Regions from separate parts of the Homo sapiens genome. Here region 1 is linked to region 2. Evidence: promoter capture Hi-C in human tissues and cell types (Jung and others, 2019). All regions are on one chromosome and are shown on one strand. The core of a region is centred on a gene start or on the middle of the fragment in contact, and the rest is flanking DNA. Distances in the headings are between cores, read along the strand shown.

The links. Contacts are between HindIII fragments. The study calls those that stand out against the background at their distance.
Region 1: a fragment that was not itself captured here is called in contact with the fragment with the promoter of CENPM in region 2 in 1 of the 25 tissues and cell types used here (lymphoblastoid cells).

What each region holds. Positions count from the first base shown.
Region 1 is chr22:42,973,143-42,976,834 of GRCh38, forward strand. The region is part of intron 1 of PACSIN2 (protein kinase C and casein kinase substrate in neurons 2); the gene reads right to left. Among named protein-coding and RNA genes, the nearest start is that of PACSIN2, 40 kb to the right of the region's middle. The HindIII fragment of the contact is 8,338 bases long and covers 1-3,692 here.
Region 2 is chr22:41,945,343-41,948,592 of GRCh38, forward strand. It overlaps CENPM (centromere protein M), which reads right to left and starts at 1,810. Exons shown (of 6, transcript NM_024053.5): 1 at 1,678-1,810; 2 at 1,075-1,154; 3 at 571-663. The coding sequence starts at 1,734. It also overlaps a transcript of SMIM45 not described here. RefSeq lists an enhancer at 1,614-1,823. The HindIII fragment of the contact is 14,723 bases long and covers 1-3,250 here.

The DNA of each region.
Region 1 (3,692 bases), core at 1,094-3,593, 1.0 Mb after region 2:
TCCTATCCAAAATGCCCTGCAACAAATTACTGAAAGATAAGGAGAGAAAGCGAGAAGTGGTGTTTTTAAAACAATCTTTAAAAAGAAAAAAGGCAGAAGACACTGTAAAAAGTATTTCCAGAACAGAAGGTTCAAAATGACAGACTCTGTCACAGGTCTCGCCCACAAGGCAATCCCTCCTGAGCAACTTCATTATTTCCACTTGCTCAGGAATTGACGAGCAAAACACAGGTCAAAACTTCCCCAGTGCTCTGAATTATGCAACTGGGAATCTGTACCACACTGTTTTTTGTCAACAAGGCTCCACTGAAGCTTCCTCCTTTAACTTCTCATTGAGAAAAAGACTCCAGATGCTTTCCCCATTCATTTTTCAAATGTTTCATTCAATCAGAAACTCTACATATACACTTTGGAATTTACACATTTGATAGCTGCAAAGCTCGCAAGCAAGCTCTCCAGCCAACATGCCTGCCTGTCTCCGCCCAGGTGTGGCAAGCCCCACACTTGTGCCACGCATGGCCCCCTGCCCCATAAACCCAGACTGGGTTGGCTGCTCTCCCCTGTAACTGACACAGAAACAGGCCTGCTACACTCCAGTCTTAGGCCTGGGCCCATCCTCCACTCCCGTCTCCATCATCCCTCATTGCCCTTGTTTCCTTGGCACCTAGCACAGGGCTTAGGGTCTAGGGGCACAGCATATGCTAAAAGAGGAAAAGAGAAAAGCCCACGAGAGAAATGGCAGCCTCATCCTTGGGGACACATAGCTCAGGTGTGGATGCCAAGTACCAAGAACAGAAGCGTAGCCTTAACTTGTAGCCTGATACAAATGCCAGCTCACAGCCCACGAGCTGTGGAATCGCAATTCAATTTACCTCAGAGCCTCTGTTTCCTCACCTGTATAAAAAGGACCAGCATCTCCCACCTCACATGTTACCAAGTGGATTACATGAGATAAAGCACCTGGCCTGGTGCCTGGCAGCTCACTGTTGTCCTGAAATCTATGTAAGTCTCCTTCCCTCCGTATCCCTATGTCGACTCTGCTTCCGGTTATCCGCCATCCAGTGTACCATGACTAGGTACAATGAAAAACAAAAGCCAGTTCCACCAAGGGCCTGGCGCCTGAACCGTCTACCCAAGGCCCTTTCCCATGAGCACCAAATAGCAGGTGCCATACCCAGAGCATTCACCTGTTAATTAGATATGATCTACTTCTAAACAGTAGGGAAGGATGCCAGCTCCCCTTTGCCAATGATTTCCATTCCCTCAATGCTCCTGGTCTAAGCCACGCCTAACTCCTCCCCACTGGAGAACAGTAGAGGAGAGTGCTCTTCCTGGTGAGTAGGGGCAGAAGTACCACATACAGGCTTCTTGTCTGGGTAGAGGCCATCCATTAAAAGATCATAAGCACCAGCCATGGCCAACATGGTGAAACCCTGCCTCTATTAAAAATACAAAAATTAGCTGGGCATGGTGGTGTGTGCCTGTAATCCCAGCTACTCGGGTGGCTGAGGCACCGTAACTGCTTAAACCTGGGAGGTGGAGGTTGCAGTGAGTTGAGATTGTGCCACTGCACTCCAGCCTGGGCAACACAGTGAGATCTTGTCTCAAAAAAAAAAAAAAAAAGAAAAGAAAAGAGAAGAAGGAGGAGGAGGAGGAGGAGAGGAAGAAAAGAGAAAGAAGAAGAAGAAGAGGAGGAGGAGGACGAGGAGAAGGAACAACAACAACAACATAAGCTTTGGGAATTAGTCCTCTTTTCCTTTCCTCTCCACCCCAGATTGATGCAAGGCAGCCAGCTGGAGCAAGGATATCTCCTCTGCAGACCCAGCTGACCTTTGAGTAGACTGTGCCAGGGCCTAGAATGTGGGTCAGGGAGAGTCAGCAAGCCCACCTGCCTGCACTGCAGATGAGCTCTAGTCCACCACTTCTACTACATTGTAACAAGGGTGGCATTTTGGTCTTGTTCTGACACTCACATCACCCTCTCTAAGGTCCAATCTGTATCAGTTTAACCTACTGACTCCCTTAAATCCAATGCCAATACTCAGTTATTAGCATGGAGGACGCTCCCACCATATTCACCACAAGTTTTAGTACTTTCACAGGATACAGAAATCCATTAGAGAAAGTCCCCATTCTTGTGGTTTACTCATAAGACAAATAAAACTAAAATATATCTATTAAAAGGTAGAAAGGGGGCTGGGCATGGTGGCTCATGCCTATAATCCCAGCACTTTGGGAGGCTGAGGCAGGAGAATTGCTCGAGCTCAGGAGTTCGGGCAAGACCCTGTCTCTACAAAAATAAAAAATATATACAAATATATATATATATAGCATGCACACAATGAAAAATTATCCAGCTGTAAAAATGAATGAAAAATGAAATTTGCAGATTACTTATGAGTCTCTTTTTATAAAATTCATAAACAAAAATAGAATATATTATTTACAGATACATGTGTATAAGTATTCTTTTTTTTTTCCCTTTTTCTAACCAGAGCCTTGTCAATATTCTTTAAAAAAAAAAAAAAGGTGCAGGAATGATGAACTATTCTAGAATGCCTTTACCCCCTGGCAGGGAGCACCCACTAGGAGTTTCCCTGTGGTGCACAGTGGTTTAGTTCTCCAGCTAGGAGGTTGGCTCCCAGGCATTTATTAGTATGTTCCAAAACTTATATATCCATCACCTCTTATTTTACATGAATTTTAAGTTATCTAAGAAAACATTTCTAAACTAGGGGTAGATGAGAGAAATGCTGTAAGACAGACACAAGAAAAAGACCCACTGATAGATGTTCAACAAATACCAGGCCAAAAGCGGGCCAATGCTGAGACACCCTGGCCCCCATGGCTTTCCAGGCCAGTCTGGAAGGTCCAATCTGAGCTGAAACCCTACAGAGTTCACAGCATTGAGGCCTTCCCCTCCTCTGTCATTTGGAGAACATTCATCATCTTATTTTGCATGTAGGAGAGGAAAAGGGGGCTAGAAACTATGCCTGTGCTAATTCTTCACCTAGAGGGAGTACAGAACCTTGGCACCTGCCAGGCTAACCCACCCACTGCTGACCCTCCTCACTCTAAATGTCACAGGTAGTTCTCAAAATGCCTCCAGGCTTATCACTTTAACGATCCTCTTCCCAGCCCAACCCCAGGAATTCCTGGTTCCTATAGAGCAAGGCCAGAAGCTACACCCTGGTGAAAGGCCACTGGCAAGCGCAGGCCTTAATGCACACTTGCTCCAGACAGAGCAGAGGCAACACTGGCCAGCCCAGGCGACAGACTGGCTCCTCTCCCCAAAAGCCTGACAAGTCCACAGGATCATCGATTTGAGGCAACAGTGCTAAATGCAGGCCTCCCTGTCATGCCTGGAGTGTCACAGAATGGCCACTTAACAGGCTTGCTGCTGGGTGTTGGCACCTATTTCTGTATTTATGTAGATTCTATGACTGTTTTAGATTTTCATTAAGATTAGCGGCAGAATTGTATTACATGCCTTTTAAATATGCTAACATAACCACATGGGTTTTCTTTTTAATGTGATACAGTGAATTGTGATGTATAACATTAACTGAGCACTTATTATGCACCAAACCCAGGTCTAATCATTTCACAGATACCCCATTTCGTCCTTCCATCAACCCTATACAGCAGTATTGTAATTGTCCTGCCAATTTTATAGATGAGGAGACTGAAGC
Region 2 (3,250 bases), core at 560-3,059:
AACAAAACTTTACAACGGAGAAAGCAGAAGTCCTTGCTTCTCTGATCCTAGAGGCCAGAGAATGACAAGAGGGTGACTTTCTCTGGAGAAATATTTGTCCTTTAATTTTTTTTTTTTTTTTTTTTTTAGATGGAGTTTCACTTTGTTGCCCAGGCTGGAGTGCAGTAGCGCGATCTTGGCTCACTGCAACCTCTGCCTCCTGGGTTCAAATGATTCTCCTGCCTCAGCCTCCCGAGTAGCTGGGACTACAGGTACATGCCACCACGCCTGGCTAATTTTTGTATTTTAGTAGAGACGGGGTTTCACCATGTTGCCCAGGCTGGTCTCGGGCAATCTGCCCACCTTGGCCTCCCAAAGTGCTGGGATTACAGGTGTGAGCCATTGTGCCCGGCCGTTGTGTATTTTAAACATTGTGCACTGACCACTGGCTCCTCTCTCCTCACCTTACAGATTGACCTCAGCCAGCCTCTCCCATCCTCACCACTTCCCATCACAAGTTAGGTCACCGTCTCAGCACAGTCCTGAGCCAGGCCTGCCTGAGCCCTGACTGCCCCTTCCTCTGGCTCTCACCTGTATTTGCTGTGAAGATTAACCACAAACACGATCAGGTCAATTCGGGGCCGATTCACACTGGAGGGCAAAGGGAGGGACTTTGCCAAGTGGCTGAAAAACAGGAAATTGCAGGACTCAAGATATCCGTACCCCCCTCATAGCGACCGTTTAAATGCTGCCCTTCATGTGGAAAGAGGCCGTCAAGGGCTCCCCACCTCATCCTAGCCACCCGAGGCTCTTGTGGCCACGACTCCTTGGGCCAGCACAGAGGCAGGACAGGTCCGGTCCTATTCAGATTACTCCTGTCTGATTCCCTCTGCCAGAAACGGGCTCTGTTTAGTCACCACCTCGGCAAGGGGAGGTTGGGATATAAGACGGCATGGGACTAGCCAGCTACGCTGCATGCTGGGAGAAGGACCAGCCTCAGAGGAGGGGGCGCTGGGCTTCGGAGTTTAGCAGCTAGGACCGAATCCCTCTGGAGTGAGAGACACGTGGGCCCAGGCCACAGCCGCGGCTACTTACACCTTCAGCTCGGAGGCGCAGTCCTCTTTGAGCATCGAGTCCGCCAGCTGCTGCAGAAGAGCATCCTCCGTGCCCACCAGCTGCGCAGGGAGAGAGAGCGGACAGTCGAGCCCTAGGCACAGCACCCCCTGGGGAGGGCCTGGCCCTTCGACCCACTCCCGGGGGGATCGGGACACCGCCAGCAGGCGGCTCGGAGGACATTTCCCGAGAAGTGGACCCCGCGAAGCGGCACGGGCTGGGGGCCTGAGGTTTGGACCCGCTGCAGGCCTGTGGGCACCGCACTCTCTACTACCCGACCCTCGCTCCCACCGCCGGCCTCTCCAGGAGGCCAGACCCCCAGACGCGGGAAAACCAATTCCAGGCGCGGGAACTCGCCAATCAGAAGCTGGGAAAGGGTCCGCCGAGCACCTATTGGTGGGTGCGTCCCTCAACCTCAGAGAGCGGCTACTCCAATTGGTTCAGAGCATGGCTCTCCGCCTATTCCCCGCCCCCGCCACGGTAGCGCGCGCTGGCTTGGCGCCTCAGAGAGCTCAGTTGACCTAGTGGCTGAAGCACCGCCCAGGAGGAAAAACCGGCGGGGGAAGCAGGGCCGCCTGCACCTACCAAGATGGTGGCCGTGTTCAGGCCGGGCAGCTTGTCCAGGGGCCTCAACACCGACATCACAGCCGCAGGACCAACCGTTGCTCCTGCGGTGCGCGCCGATCTTTCAAACCGCCCTGAGTCCAGCCCCTAGAGCGCGGCCTGGGGGCACGTGCCTCCTTATAGGCGGGGCTTCGCGGGACGGGACGGGGCCTCTTAAAGGAACCGAACCTTTATCTCCTTTTCTGAGGGGCGTTCCAGCGCTACCCGTGGAACACGTGGTGGACAGGCCTTTGGTTCCACGCTCCACAGTAAGCAGGTTTTTAGTGATTCCTTTGTTCACTTTCATTCATTCATGCTCATACACAGTACTTTTTTTTTTTTTTTTTGAGACAGAGTCTCGCTTTGTGGCCCAGGCTGGAGTGCAATGCGCGCAATCTCGGCTCACTGCAACTTCTGCCTCCCGAGTTTAAGCGATTCTCCTGCCTCAGCCTCCCAAGGAGCTGGGACTACGGGCGCGCGTCACCACGCCCGACTTATTTTTTTATTTTTAGTAGAGACGGGGTTTCTCCAAGTTGCCCAGGCCGGTCTCAAACTCCTGGCCTCAAGTGATCCCGCCTCGGCCTCCCAAAGTGAGTGCTGAGATTACAGACGTGAGCCACCGTGCCTGGCCCTTTTTTTTTTTTTTTTTTTGGAGCGTCACTTTGTTGCCCAGGCTGGACTATAGTGACACGATCATAGCTCACTACAGCTTCAAACTCCTGGGCTCAAGTCATCTTCCTGGCTTAGCCTCCTGAGTAGCTGGAACTACAGGCAAGTGCCACCATGGGGATCTGGCCATGTTGCCCAGGTGGGTCGTAAACTCCTGGCCTCAAGCAGCCCTCCTGCTTCAGCCTCCTGAGTAGCTGGGACTACCGCTGCACACCAGCAGGCCCTGCCAATTGACTGCTTTTACAGTGAGTGGTAAGCATGCTGTTCTTTGTCCAATGGGAGACTTTACCTCATCTTTCAAGGTTCCTTGCTGCAAACACAGCCTGAGTACAGAGCTGTCAGGGTCTTGCTTTCTTGACATACCCAGCAAGAACATGCAGGGACGCTCAGGGCCCATAGCAAACTGGTTCTGCCAACAGTTATATAATAACTTGTTCACTGTCTCTACATCTAAAATGTAAGAAACAAGAGGTTAGAGACTTTGTCACTTTGTATGTCCAGCACTCTAAAAGTCCCTGGTACATCGTAGTTAATAAATATTTGTTGAGTGAATGGATGGATTACATTCATCCATTCATTCTCAGCAGTCATTCATTCATCATTTCCTATGCCCAGACCCAATGCCCTACCCTAGGAAGTCAGTTGAATCAGACATTATTGATTAACTTAGTTTGATGGGGGTGGGATAGACAATGATAACAGTGTGTTCATTGTTGTAATAACTGGGAGAGCAGAGACACTGTCTAGCCTAAATCCTTCTTACTGCAGACTAAACTAACTGTGTCTTGCTCAGAAAGATCAGGACGTAAATGGCCCCATAGAGCCACTGCCCTCAGCACAGATACGGCTTTCATTCCTCATGGCATGGGGTGTGGAGAGGACTTCC